2 separate regions of the Homo sapiens genome follow, and region 1 is linked to region 2. Evidence: promoter capture Hi-C in human tissues and cell types (Jung and others, 2019). All regions are on one chromosome and are shown on one strand. The core of a region is centred on a gene start or on the middle of the fragment in contact, and the rest is flanking DNA. Distances in the headings are between cores, read along the strand shown.

Evidence for each region. Contacts are between HindIII fragments. The study calls those that stand out against the background at their distance.
Region 1: a fragment that was not itself captured here is called in contact with the fragment with the promoter of MAP3K10 in region 2 in 1 of the 25 tissues and cell types used here (lymphoblastoid cells).

Annotation. Positions count from the first base shown.
Region 1 is chr19:39,667,634-39,675,407 of GRCh38, reverse strand. No RefSeq gene overlaps it. Among named protein-coding and RNA genes, the nearest start is that of LGALS16, 16 kb to the right of the region's middle. The HindIII fragment of the contact is 3,110 bases long and covers 87-3,196 here.
Region 2 is chr19:40,189,277-40,196,610 of GRCh38, reverse strand. MAP3K10 (mitogen-activated protein kinase kinase kinase 10) reads right to left here and starts at 5,185. Exons shown (of 10, transcript NM_002446.4): 1 at 3,898-5,185. The coding sequence starts at 4,579. RefSeq lists silencers at 4,488-4,787, 5,058-5,557 and an enhancer at 5,718-5,957. The HindIII fragment of the contact is 11,839 bases long and covers 1-7,212 here.

The sequences.
Region 1 (7,774 bases), core at 392-2,891, 520 kb after region 2:
ACAATTGGGGAAATTAAAATAGTATCATAAATTAGAAGTTGATTCTTAGGTGGTGGCAGAGTAGAACTTCTATCAGTCTTGTGGATCTGAAGATACAAAAATTATAGGTTGTTGTCTGCCAAGTGGGAGAGAGAGTTAGGCTTTTAGTTGGAACCCTGAAAGAGATACACCCTAGAGCAGGGGTCCCCAACCCTCAAGCCATAGAGCAGTAACAATCCGTGGCCTGTTAGGAAAGAAGCCACAAAGCAGGAGGTGAGCAGTGGGTAAGCATTACTGCGTGAGTGGCCTCCTGTCAGATAAGCCCCAGCATTAGATTCTCATAGGAGCACGAATTAGAATTTTACAACCAGAATTCCACATTGTGGGTGCCACAGTGTATAGTTTTATCACAAATAGTAGCATAACTATAACAATTCCCACAAGAGTGGGATAGTAAAAAACATTTGTTTAAAACTTTACTTGTCAAGATATAACATTTCCCTTTGGGGATTTACGGAGTTCCAAGTGCAATTTCATTTATCATTAAAATTTTCTGCAATTATACATTAAAAAGAAGTTTTAATATTTGGTGGCAAATTTTGACAGGAAAGGGCAGAAATGACAACAAGTATATGTTGAGGTAAATGTGGGACTGAGTAAGATGGGTAGACCTTACTCAGTTACTTAATTTTTGTGATTTTTAGCTTAACATTTTCTGCTTTTCCACATGGACATTCTGGATGTTTCTCTGGACTGTTAGGGGTTGCTCCCCCAGCTTTTTAAGCTTTGACTTTAGTGTGATGTATTCAGGAGTTGATTCCTGTAAATTTTACTACTGAGAGGGTTGAAAGAAGAACAGTGGAGGGCCCTTCCCAGCTTGGCTTAGGGAAGGAGAGAGATGAGATTTTTCACTAATACTAAATTTCCTGGATTAAATAAAGATGGTTTTAGTTCCTGGACTTGGGCTTTCACTAGTTGTGTTAATGCCCTGAGACTTCCTTGCCTCTGTCTTAGCTGGCTGACCAGTTAATTTATTTCCTTTGCTTACCTTATTTATTTTCTTTTGATGTTCCCTACAATGCATCCTGCTATTTCTTGTGGAAGAAAAACTGAGGATAATAACCTATTAATTTCCTGGTGATATTTTATGGGAGATTCATTAGTGGTAAGAAAATGCCTTTCCTTTTAAATAGCAGCATGAGCATGGACAATTAGGAAAGCATACTTGGAGTTAGTAGAAATGTTAGCTATCTTTCTCTGGCTTAATTTAAGTGCTCTTGTAAGAGCTATTAGCTCAGCTAATTGAGTGCTTGTGTTTGGGGCAGTGACTACTGCTCATCCTGCCTTATGTACTTCTTGCTTTACTGGCTGTTTACTAGCTAAGAGCTCCCCTTAGAGGTCAGTGATCCTGCCACATTATGTGGGCTGTAAACAGTTGAATTATTTCCTAGGGTTAACTTGGAGGCTTTTTTGACTAGTAGAGCTATTATGACAATGACTTGGAAGCACGTGTAAATAGGTCTTTCTAACTACAGCTAAGGTTGAAAAAAATATTGGATTAGAGTTTTTCCCGAGATGCCCTTTACAGTTGTGCTATGAGAAGAGCGGAGGCCTGGATTAGAGAGGAGAAAAGAGAGAGACTGGCTCTAGTGCTTAGAAGGAGGTTTACTTTCCTTTTGTAAATTTCCAGAATCCTCTAGGACTCCTGTGCTCTATGGCAGTTTGAGTCACTGGAGCCAATGTTGGAGCCCTTGGACCCATCATTCCTGCTGGACCATCTGTGAGGCTGATTTTGAACCCAGTGACCTCTGCCTCTGGGGGTAGTTCTGTTTCCAGTGGTTTTTGCCACAGCCTGGATAGGGTTGAGTTTGCTTCATCTTGCTGCCTGGGCATTCCTTTTAAAAATGCTCTGGGCTGCCATGCCAATAGCAACTAGTGGATGTACCTTGGGGATTCTGGACTTTACAAGCTTGCAAAGCTGCTGCTGGAGCCTCTGTCCTTCTCTTGAGATTCCCCCGCTTTTGTTGGGACTCCTCCTTGTCCCTATTATAAAAGACCAAAGTCGCCACTTGCAGGAGGTTCTCTAAGGTGGTATTTTGTCCTAAGCTTGCTTTTTTAGTTTTAATATCAGGAGCTGCTTTTGTAATAAACTTCTCCTTCAAAATGAGCTGTTCCTCCATTGAATTAGGGGATAAGGAGATGTACTCTATTAGTGCCTCTCTTGGCCTTTCCATAAAGGCTACAGAATTATTATCTGGCTTTTGGTTCATTATAGACAGCTTAGAGTAACTGAGAGGTTTGGCCCTGGTTTCCTCTAGGCCTTTTATAGTGAGTATTAAAAAGTACTTCCTTTTCCTATCATTTCCTGAGCTATTGAAGTTTTAGTTAGGGTTGTTTATGAGAACCGCTTCCCTCCCATTTAGTAAAAATGCCATGTCCTTGTGCAAAAGAAAATAAATTGCTTTTCTCTTTACAGTTTTGAGATTAAGGAAGTTTCAGTGTTTCAGAGTGCACTCCAGAGGGGTGCAACCTAAAGATAATTTATTATCCATTTAGAAAAAGAAGAAAGAATACAAAGCATCTTCTTAGTCTCCTTCCTTTTGGTATGACCCAGAGTGGAGGAGCAGACAGGGAGCATCCTCTGATTACTTCCCCTCCCTGGTTTCTGGATCCCGGCACCATGTTAAATGTGCCACCCATGGCTGTAGGTGTGGTCCTCCAAGCCATAGAGCTGGATGAACTAAGTGATGGGGCTACCCGTGCTTACCCATGCAGTCTTAGCTTATCTGCCTTGTGTGATTTACCTTTGATTTCCTAAACATGTGCAGTTTGCCTGGCTCCCTGAAAACGGATCTCCGGGGAGACTGTGTCACCTCTGGGCAAGGCTCCTTTAATGGAGGCAATGTGCTAGATTGCCTGCTATTATGACCCGTGCTAATGCATTTACCCTTTAAAAAAAACTGTTCTGGTTAACTTCTAAACTTAATATCCCCTTACCAATTAAGTACTGTCTTAATTGGAGACAGAATAGGTGCCTTAAAAGAGTGTAGGAACCGAATGGCAGTTTTCCTACTGATGGGACAATATTGGGACTAAAATCTGGCTGTGGAAGACATCTTACTCCTAATGGTTGAAACCAGAGTTTCCCGTCCACAGAAGTAGCAGTAAAAAAGTGCAAAATGGAGAAATTGTGAAGCTGCAACGTACCACAGAGAACCAAGTGTCTCATGAAGAGGATTTTTATTTCCACCAGGTGGCGGTTTTGGCTTAGAAATACCATGTGCTCACCAGCGAAACCTTAGAGAGACAGACGTTTATTGAGTTACTGCCTGCCTTGATTCATGATCTTCTCTAACAGACCTGTTTCCCTGAACTGTAAAGATTCCTGCACATTAGACACAGTGAGAGAGACAGTAAGAGACCGCGGGTAGAGAGAGAAAGAAAGTTTGGTGGCAGGATAGCTGGAAGAGAGCCTAGAGATTAAAAGACAGATTTAAAGTTGAGATTTGCTCCATACTCACCAGTCTGATGAATGAATTCCCATTCCTGGCCAATGCACCTAAAAGATATGGCTCCGATGACTGGAGGGAACCAGGGTCCTTGGTCTCGTGCTGATAAGATTAACAACATGGACACATGTGGAGTGGTTTTAAGGGGTGAAAAGTTTCATAGGCAAGAAAGAAGGAAGGAAGAAAACAGCTCCCCCGTACAGAGACAGAGAGAGGGGGATTCGAACAAAAAACCCCCCATGCTCCCCACCCTGTGTCCAAGTGTTCTCATTGTTCAATTCCCACCTACGAGTGAGAACATGCGGTGTTTGGTTTTCTGTCCCTGCGATAGTTTGCTCAGAATGATGGGGGGAGGGAAAGCATTAAGAGAAATACCTAATGTAAATGACGAGTTAATGGGTGCAGCACACCAACATGGCACATGTATACATATGTAACAAACCTGCACGTTGTGCACATGTACCCTAGAACTTAAAGTATAATAATAAATAAAAACCTATCACACACACACACATAAAAACCATGTGTGGTGGAAAAGTGATTGCTTATATTGGGATGCTGGAGGAGGCGGCTTCTGGTTTCCATAGGGCCCAGGGGATTGGTTTGACCAGGTGTGTAATTTCTGTAGCCTGTGAAAAATCTGGCCCTCCCATCTTAGCCCTTTAATATGCAAATGCGGGTTGCCATGATGTTTCGAACACATGGTGTTATCTGAAAGTGGCCATGACACTTGGTACACCTGGTGACAAGGAAAAGATGGCAGGAATCACCACATTGAGTGAACCTCGTTTCTAATGACCCAGTATTTGCATATCAAAGCTTGCTCTCCTGGCCCTTCAAGCCACCTTTTCTGTTAGAAAAGAGATGGTTTGGGGGTTGTTTCTTATTACAGGAAAATTTCCACCAAGAACTTTTACCCTTACTATCTACCTAAAAATTATTTCTTAATAACTCCTGTATCACAAGGATGAGAAATAGTGTCCATGTAGGTCCTGAGAATAAAAAAAAAGAGCCTAATCCATGATATATAATACCTAAAAATGGCTTTGGAAGTGCATATTTTATTGTGGCCAATGTTTGACCTCTTTAAAAAGCTATAATATCATGACAGTGTGGTGCTGGCTTAAGGAGAGGCATAGAAATCAAAGGAGTAGAATAGAGAGCCTAGAAACACTCACAGAGGGTCACCTGAGAGTCCACAATGGGCTACGACCATCGCATTGGAAAAGGACAGACTTCTCAACACGTGATGCTGGGAAAACTGGACTTACACATACTGGTCCCTTAGCTTATAACATATACAATAGTGAACTCAAAATGTATCAATGAGTAAACGTAAGACCTTCAATGATAATGATAGGAGAAATGATAATGACAGGCAGATATCATCATGACATGAGATTGGGCAATGATTTCTTGATTATGGGCTGTAAATACAGACAAAGTGCACTTTATCTGTTTTTTCTTTTTTTTTTTTCTTATGTCATTTTCTTTTTTAAAAAATTATTATTATACTTTAAGTTTTAGGGTACATGTGCACAATGTGCAGGTTAGTTACATATGTATACATGTGCCATGCTGGTGTGCTGCACCCATTAACTCATCATTTAGCATTAGGTATATCTCCTAAAGCTATCCCTCCCCCCTTCCCCCACCCCACAACAGTCCCCAGAGTGTGATGTTCCCCTTCCTGTGTCCATGTGTTCTCATTGTTCAATTCCCACCTATGAGTGAGAATATGCAGTGTTTGGTTTTTTGTTCTTGCGATAGTTTACTGAGAATGATGATTTCCAATTTCATCCATGTCCCTACAAAGGACATGAACTCATCATTTTTTATGGCTGCATAGTACTCCATGGTGTATATGTGCCACATTTTCTTAATCCAGTCTATCAACGTTGGACATTTGGCTTGGTTACAAGTCTTTGCTATTGTGAATAGTGCCACAATAAACATACGTGTGCATGTGTCTTTATAGCAGCATGATTTATAGTCCTTTGGGTATATACCCAGTAATGGGATGGTTGGGTCAAATGGTATTTCTAGTTCTAGATCTCTGAGGAATTGCCACACTGACTTCCACAATGGTTGAACTAGTTTACAGTCCCACCAACAGTGTAAAAGTGTTCCTATTTCTCCACATCCTCTCCAGCACCTGTTGTTTCCTGACTTTTTAATGATTGCCATTCTAACTGGTATAAGATGGTATCTCATTGTGGTTTTGATTTGCATTTCTCTGATGGCCAGTGATGGTGAGCATTTTTTCATGTGTTTTTTGGCTGCATAAATGTCTTCTTTTGAGAAGTGTCTGTTCATGTCCTTTGCCCACTTTTTGATGGGGTTGTTTGTTTTTTTCTTGTAAATTTGTTGGAGTTCATTGTAGATTCTGGATATTAGCCCTTTGTCAGATGAGTAGGTTGCAAAAATTTTCTCCCATTTTGTAGGTTGCCTGTTCACTCTGACGGTAGTTTCTTTTGCTGTGCAGAAGCTCTTTAGTTTAATTAGATCCATTTGTCAATTTTGGCTTTTGTTGCCATTGCTTTTGGTGTTTTAGACATGAAGTCCTTGCCCATGCCTATGTCCTGAATGGTAATGCCTAGGTTTTCTTCTAGGGTTTTTATGGTTTTAGGTCTAACGTTTAAGTCTTTAATCCATCTTGAATTAATTTTTGTTTAAGGTGTAAGGAAGGGATCCAGTTTCAGCTTTCTACATATGGCTAGCCAATTTCCCCAGCACCATTTATTAAATAGGGAATCCTTTCCCCATTGCTTGTTTTTCTCAGGTTTGTCAAAGATCAGATAGTTGTAGATATGTGGCGTTATTTCTGAGGGCTCTGTTCTGTTCCATTGATCTATATCTCTGTTTTGGTACCAGTATTATGCTGTTTTGGTACCAGTATTATGCTGTTTTGGTTACTGTAGCCTTGTAGTATAGTTTGAAGTCAGGTAGCATGATGCCTTCAGCTTTATTCTTTTGGCTTAGGATTGACTTGGCGATGCGGGCTCTCTTTTGGTTCCATATGAACTTGAAAGTAGTTTTTTCCAATTCTGTGAAGAAAGTCATTGGTAGCTTGATGGGGATGGCATTGAATCTGTAAATTACCTTGGGCAGTATGGCCATTTTCACGATATTGATTCTTCCTACCCATGAGCATGGAATGTTCTTCCATTTGTTTGTATCCTCTTTTATTTCATTGAGCAGTGGTTTGTAGTTCTCCTTGAAGAGGTCCTTCACGTCCCTTGTAAGTTGGATTCCTAGGTATTTTATTCTCTTTGAAGCAATCATGAATGGGAGTTCACTCATGATTTGGCTCTCTGTTTGTCTGTTATTGGTGTATAAGAATGCTTGTGATTTTTGTACATTGATTTTGTATCCTGAGACTTTGCTGAAGTTGCTTATCAGCTTAAGGAGATTTTGGGCTGAGACAATGGGGTTTTCTAGATATACTATCATGTCATCTGCAAAGAGGGACAATTTGACTTCCTCTTTTCCTAATTGAATACCCTTTATTTCCTTCTCCTGCCTAATTGCCCTGGCCAGAACTTCCAACACTATGTTGAATAGGAGTGGTGAGAGAGGGCATCCCTGTCTTGTGCCAGTTTTCAAAGGGAATGCTTTCAGTTTTTGCCCATTCAGTATGATATTGGCTGTGGGTTTGTCATAGATAGCTCTTATTACTTTGAGATACATCCCATCAATACCTAATTTATTGAGAGTTTTTAGCATGAAGGGTTGTTGAATTTTGTCAAAGGCCTTTTCTGCTTCTATTGAGATAATCATGTGGTTTTAGTCTTTGGTTCTGTTTATATGCTGGATTACATTTATTGATTTGCATATATTGAACCAGCCTTACATCCCAGGGATGAAGCCCACTTGATCATGGTGGATAAGCTTTTTGATGTGCTGCTGGATTCGGTTTGTCAGTATTTTATTGAGGATTTTTGCATCAATGTTCATCAAGGATATTGGTCTAAAATTCTCTTTTTTGGTTGTGTCTCTGCCAGGCTTTGGTATCAGGATGATGCTGGCCTCATAAAATGAGTTTGGGAGGATTCCCTCTTTTTCTATTGATTGGAATAATTTCAGAAGGAATGGTACCAGTTCCTCCTTGTACCTCTGGTAGAATTCAGCTGTGAATCCATCTGGTCCTGGACTTTTTTTGGTTGGTAAGCTATTGATTATTGCCTCAATTTCAGAGCCTGTTATTGGTCTATACAGAGATTCAACTTCTTCCTGTTTTAGTCTTGGGAGGGTGTATGTGTCGAGGAATTTATCCATTTCTTCTA
Region 2 (7,334 bases), core at 3,936-6,435:
GGAGGCAGAGGTTGCAGTGAGCCGAGATCGTGCCACTGCACTTCAACCTGGATGACAGAGCGAGACTCCATCTCAATGAAATAAATAAATAAATAAAGAGACAGGGTCTTTTTCTGTCACTCAGACTGGAGTGCAGTGGTGTGATTATGGCTTGCTGTAGCTTCAAACTTCTGGGCTTAAACAATCCTCCAGCCTTGGACTCCCAAATTGCTGGGACTACAAGAGTAAACCACTGCACCCAGCCACAACCCATTTTTCTTGACTAGCTAACAGAGGCTCAGAAGTCACTTGGCCAAGAGGTCACATGGTTAGAAAATGGCAGGACAAAGGCTTGAATTAGTTTTGTCATCAGAGCTCAATCTCTTAACTGCTGAGATATTTTACTACCTTCTATCACATAGAGGCTCCAAAGTATACAGTGTGCTGCCTGGGTTTGAGTCTCAGCCCTGCTTCTTCCTAGGTGCATAACCCTGTACAGTTTACTTTAATCTTCACACCGAGACTTCTCCTCTATGAAATGGGGCTCGTAACAGAATTTACCTTCTAGCGTTATAGTAAAAATTTATTGCCTGAAGCAATAGGGCCTTTAAAAGTGTTAGCTGTTATTATTAGTGTGTGATATTGCCATAATTGTTCCGAATTTCTCCACTTTTCTTTTTGCCATTCCTGGCTACTTCCCAGTCATAATAATAATAGTAAGGTAGTTCTACTATCATGCCCATTTGGCAGATGAAGGAACTGAAGGTGGCAGAGATTGGCAAATCACCCAGGGTCACACAATTGATAATCCTGCCCATCCTTTAAAGCCCAGCTTCAGATTGGACGCGGTGGCTCATGCCTGTAATCCTAGCACTTTGGGAGGCTAAGGCAGGCGGATCACCTGAGGTCAGGAGTTCAAGACCAGCCTGGCCAACATGGCAAGACCACCGTCTCTACTAGAAATACAAAAATTAGCCAGGCTTGGTGGCGCACGCCTGTAGCCCTGCCTACTTGGAAAGTTGAGGTGGAAGGATCACTTGAACCCGGGAGGCGGAAGGTTCAGTGAGCTGTGATCACACTACTGCACTCCAGCCTGGGTCACAGAGTGAGATGACTCTGTCTCAAAAAAAAAAAAAAAAAAAAAAAAAAAAAAAAAAAAAGGCCGGGCGGGCTTCAGTGTTACCTCCTCCTGGAAGCCCCCACTGTAAATTCCTAGTCTGTAACTCCACCTCTGCAGAAGTTTTCCCTTCTTAGGTCCCCACCTCTCCTGTTTGTATCGAAACCCTGTGACAGAGGGAACATCTCATGGTTTTATGCTTTATTTCTGTATTTCCCAGGCTGGGCCTAAGTCAGTCCCCCTTCAAAATCTTTATGTAATCATGTCACTCCCTGCTTCAAATCCTCTAATGGCTTCCACTACATCAAATAAAATACCCCAAGTCCTCACCATGGCCCCCAAGGTCCTATGTGATCTGGCTCCTGCCAGCCTTTCTGATCCTACTTCCTCCCATCTCTGCCTCAATGCCTGCTGTTCTGGTCTTGCTGTTCTCCAGTGAGACACACTCACTCCCACCTCAGGGCATGTGCCCCACTGTTCCCCTTCCCCAGATCTTTGTAAAGCTGGGTCCCCTTTGTTCAGGTCTCTGCTCAAATGTTGCCTTCCCTGACCACCCGATCTAAATAAAGAGAACCCTCTGCTCCAGCCTTTGCCTTAGTCCACTGAGAGCCCCTGATACTCTCTGAAATTTTGGTATCCATCTATCCATCATTTATTCCTGTTCACCGGAATATAAATTCCATAGCTGGGGGAGGGAGAAATCTTGCCTTGTTCACTTCTGTAATCCCAGAGCTGAGGCAGTGCCTAGTAAGAGTAGGCACTTAAGAATTACTGGTGGAATGAACCAATGAATGAATGATGGCAGATGAGGCGCTCCTTAGGGTAGGATGAGTGGGGAAGCAGTGCTGTGGAGGCGCTGTGTCCTCTGTTTCTGGCACAGAGCAGACCCATCACCCCGGGAGGAAGCCCTGGCCATAAGAGGCCCACTGACCCTTTGACCAGATAGCACTGGCTACAAAAAACCTGGGGGTGTGGGGCGTGCTGTCAATCAGCAGAGGTGAGGAAGGGCTGAGGAGTCCCAGCCTTCAACAGGAGCATGCTGGGTGGCCCTGCCTCCATTTACCCAACATTTCAGAGGTGCTGGGGCATAAGCATCAGTTCCCCAGACACAGCACCAGCTCTGGCACATCGTGGTCACATGTTAGCTTTTTTTTTTTGCGATGGAATCTTGCTCTGTCACCCAGGCTGGAGTGCAGTGGTGCAATCTCGGCTCACTGCAACCTCCACCTCCTGGTTTCAAGCGATTCTTCTGCCTCAGCCTGAGTAGCTGGGATTACAGATGCATGCCACCATGCCCAGCTAATTTTTGTATTTTTAGTAGAGAAGGGGTTTCACCATATTGGTCAGGCTGGTCTCGAACTCCTGACCTCGGGTGATGCACCCACGTCGGCCTCCCAAAGTGCTGGGATTACAGGCGTGAGCCACCGCGCCCAGCCAAGCTCTCTGTTGATATACAAATGTCAGGCTTGGGAGGCAAGGAAGATGCAGTCCCTCTATTCTAGGGGCTTACAATTGCTATGGGTGGGGAATAGCAATATATTCCTAAAAATAGTGGGATGGATTAAAATAAATTTCAAGATGTAGAAGTGACAGAAATCAGGAATAGATGAGATGTGGGTGTTGAGAGCAAAGGGGGCACCTTCACATTTTGGGGCTTAACTGTGAGTGACGTGAGGGCCGGGGACATGCTGGCCTTCTCCACTGCTGATGCCTTTGCTTAGCACATGATCTGGCCTGGTAAATACCAAATGGAAGAATGAACAAATGAATGAAGAAATGAAAGGGAGTGAGATGGGGCACAGCACGAATGGGAGAGCCAGGAATGTAAGATTTTTTTTTTCTTGCTGTATCCCTGGGACAGGGTCTGGCACACAGCACTCTGGAAATATCTGTGGAATGAATGAATGAAATTGCTAGCCTGTGAGTACTGTCAGGGCAGAAACCATGGCTGTCTTACTCCCAGCTGGGCTCCTGCTTAATAGGTGCTCAATTAATACTTGTTGACACCACATGAAGCTCTTCCATCTAGAAATGAGTCTTGCAGAATGTTCCCTTCTACCTGGCTCCATTATTTATTCAACCAACCAATCAACTTTGGAGAACCTATCAGGCAGCCTGGAAGCTTTTATATAAGCCACATCAATTTAATTCCTCCCTCATCTTTTCCAGTTTGCCTTGGCCAGCTCGGCCTATGAAGACTCCAGGAAATGGTTCTCAACTGGGGGTGATTCTGCCCCCCAGGGGACATTTGCAATGCCTGGAGACACTTTTGGTTGTCATAGCTGGGGAGAGGGGGCAGGGAATGCTAATGACATCTAGTGGGAAGAGGCTAAAGATGCCGCTAAGCAACTCACAATTTACAGGACAGCCCCTACAACAATGATCTGGCCTCAAGTGCCAATAGTGCTGGGGTTGAGAGACACTGACTCCAGACGGGGTAGGCTCTTTTTGTCTCTGCCTGGTGGACTCTGGCAGCATGGCTGGATGGCAAGCACCTTGAAGGCAGGCACTGCATCTGTCCTGTTCATGCAGGGAACGCAGGTGTTCATGGATACATGTTTACTGAGCGATTGTGACTCTGCAGCCTGGGAGGCAGGTAAGTCCTTCAACCTTTCTGAGCCTCCTTTTTCTCCCTTAAGGCAGGCAAGGCCTACCTCACCTTCACCCTGAAGGTATCATACTGCTGCCCCTTCTCACTCCAGGCACAGTGTCATCTGGTGTCCCTCACCCTGTTTCCCACCACCTAGGCCTGGCCTTGAGAGGTTCTGTGGAAGGAATTTTGGGGAGAGGACACCACTTACTGTTGATGGACTTGAGGTCCCGGTGGATGATGGGCACAGGGGCATCATTGTGTAGGTAGTTCATGCCCCGGGCCACCTGCACAGCCCAGTTGACCAGCACGTGAGGTGGCACCCGGCGACCTGCCAGCACCCTGCTCAGTGCACCACCCCGGGCATACTCCATCACTAGGCAGAGGTGTGGGGGGTTGAGGCAGGCGCCCCTAAGGGCAATTATGTTGGGGTGCTGCAGGGCTCCAAAGAGCCGGGCTTCCTGGCACACCTGCTCCGCTGTCACTGCCGGGTCCTTCTCAGGGTCCAGCCGGGCGGCCTTGACTGCCACCTCCTCGCCACGCCACAGGGCCCGATAGACCTTGCCAAAGCCCCCCACACCGATGATCTCCTCTAGCTGCAGCTCGTGGAAGGGGATCTCCTGGGGCAGCTGGAGGCCCGCGGGTGCAGCGGGGGCGCCGGGGGCCACGTAGTTGCTGGGGAAGACGCCCACGCGGCCGCTGGGGAGCTGCCCGGTCCACCAGCCCTCGTCGCCGGACACCGCACAGTCTTGGGAAAGCACCTGGACGCGATCGCCCCTCCGCAGGGTCAGCTCCTCGTCGCCCGCCGCCTCGTAGTCGAACACCGCGGTCCAGACGGGCCCCGCGGGGGTCGTGCCCCACTCCTTGGCCACCGCCCCCTCCTCCTCCTCCATGGGGGAGGGGCCGGGGGCTGCGGGAGGCCGCTTCACACAGGCTGCCCGCGGGATGCAGAGGGCGGGCCCCGGCGGCCGGGATGGAGGGCAGTCCCTGCGGGGTCTAGGGAGCTCCTGAGGGCCATGGCTGGGGCGCCCTCCGCAGGAGCAAGAAAAAAAACCCTTTCAAAGGGCAGGCTCGTCCCTTCCGATTTGGCTGTACGGGCGGGGCGGGGCGGGGTGGGAGTGGGGCGGCAGGTTCACCCGTGCCCCCCAAACGGCAGAGGGCTAAGAGGGCCTGGCCGCGCGGCTCTCGAATGCCCGCCGGGGTCCGCCGGTGGGGGACGAGGGCGAGGGCGGCAGGCAGTCCCCGTTCCCCGCGCCGCTCACCCCGCGCAGCTCCACCGGCGGCCCCCGGCTCCGCATCCCGGGCCACGACTGCCGGGCCGGGCGGGGGTGGCGGGGCCCCTGGGGCGGCCGCCCCGGGCCGGGGTGGCGCGCCCCTCGGCCTCCTCACGCGCGGGGCAGCCGGGCGGCCCCCATCCTTGGCACCGGCCTCCCGGTCGGCCCCAGCCCCTGCCCCCCGCCCGTGCTGCTTCCCCGGGCCACCGGCGGGGCCCGAGTGACGTGTGGGCGCCGCCGCCGCGGTGCCTCCTGGGAGTTGTAGTCTCCGGCCGTGCGGCCTCGGGGCCCGGCTCTCAGCGCCCTCCAGCAGAGCCCCGCGGCCAGCCTCGGGCCGCAATGGACATGACACCCCACGAAGCCGAAGGAGTCCTCCCGGGGAGATGAGCCCGGCCTCGGCCCCTCCTTCGGACGCGGCGTAGCGGGCGCCCGGGGCGGGGGGAAGCGCTCCTCACAGACCCTGTGGGGGCCGCGGCCCAGGATGGGTTGGACTGCAACGGACGCGATTAGCAACGCGAAAAATAGGAGCTGCGTGCATGACTGTGACTGCCCGGAGCCGCGAACGCAGCCTGGACCTTATCCCTGAGGCAGGACGGCCCCTCGGACCCCCCGACCGAGATGTACGCTGGGAACTGTAGTCCGCGCGGGGACCTGGCGCTGCAGGGGGCGGCCCCCAAACAGCGGGCTGCGGGCGTCGGCGGGTGGTTGGAGCAAGTTAGGGGTCGGGCCGGTGGCGGGACTCTGCGGGGAAGATGGGGCTGGGAGGATGTGTTTAGTGTCCCTGGGGATGTCACAGCCACGTCTGCTTTCCCCACCAGCTCTGGGTTCCTCTGCTGAAGTCAGAACTCCTGCTCTTGAGAATCCCCGATTCCTATTTTATAGGAGTTTCAATTTCGGGGAGCTTAATGTGCATGTTGTATTCAGTGCTTTGTACACGTGGTATCGTTAAGTCTTCACAAAGAGCCCCATTTTACAGATGACTCATAGAGAAGTGAAGTCATTTGTGCAAGGCTACAGAGCTATAAATGGCAAAGCAAAAATGAAAGGCAGTTTTAAAAATTAACAACCAGGCCGGGCGCGGTGGCTCACGCCTGTAATCTCAGCGCTATGGGAGGCCAAGGCGGGCGGATCACGAGGCCAGGAGTTCGTGACCAGCCTGGCCAGCATGGTGAAACCCCCGTCTCTACTATTTAAAAAAAAAAAAAAAAATTAGCCGGGCGTGGTGGTGTGCGCCTGTAATCTATCCCAGCTACTCGGGAGGCTGAGGCAGGAGAATCGCTTGAACCTGGGAGGTGGAGGTTGCAGTGAGCCAAGATCACGCCACAGCACTCCAGCCTGGACGACAGGGCAAGACTCCGTCTCAAAATAAATAAATAAATAAATAACCATCGCCACGATTAACAAAAACAACAACAACAAAAAAAAAAACAACAAAAAACAAACAAACAAAAAACCCACTGCCTTTCTATTTAAAGAATGAGGAAAGTAGGTCCCGCAGAGGTTCAGTGACTTCTTCAAGATCTCTAAGCTTGTAAGAGGCAAAATTCTGGGTCTTTTTACTTGGCCTCTCCTGAGTGGTATGGGGTCTAGAGGGAGGAGAGAAGAAGAGGAAATAAGAGGGACTCTAGTGCCCAAACTCCAGAGAACTGCCCCTCAGGGTCCTTGGGGAATTGTTCCATTGTCAGAGGGAAGTGGGTTACCTGGTCTCCTGGCTACCTAGCAGGGACACTCGGAGCATATCAAAAATGCTTGTTGGAAGAGAGAGCCCCAGCTTCATTCTGAGTATAAGTGTTTCTGCTATAACCTGCTATATGCATTCTTAAAAAACCTTCAGTTCTTCAAAACGGTGCACTAAAATTAACAAGACTTCATGGAAAAAATAGAGTTAGAGACAGATTGCTCAAAATATATGCAACTAGCTGGGCACGGTGGCTCATGCCTGTAATCCCAGCACTTTCAGAGGCCGAGGAGGGAGAATTACTGGAGTCCAGGAGTTTCAGACTAGCCTGGGCAACATAGGGAGACTCCGTCTCTACAAAAAAATAAAAAATTAGGCGGGTGTGGTGGTGTGCACCTGTGTTCCCAGCTACTCGGGAGACTGAGGTATAGGGGTATTACCTGAGCCCAGGAGGTCGAGGCTACTGTGAGCTGTGATTGTGGCACTGACTGCACTCCAGCCTGAGAGACAGAGCGAGACCCTGACTCAAAAAAAAAAAAGTAAAAATAAAAACCTGTATACAACTTTTTTTTTTTTTGAGATGGAGTCTCACTCTGTTGCCAGGCTGGAGTGCAGTGGCACGGTCTTGGCATACCACAACCTCCGACTCCCTGGTTCAAGTGATTCTCCTGCTTCAGCCTTCCGAGTAGTTGGAAT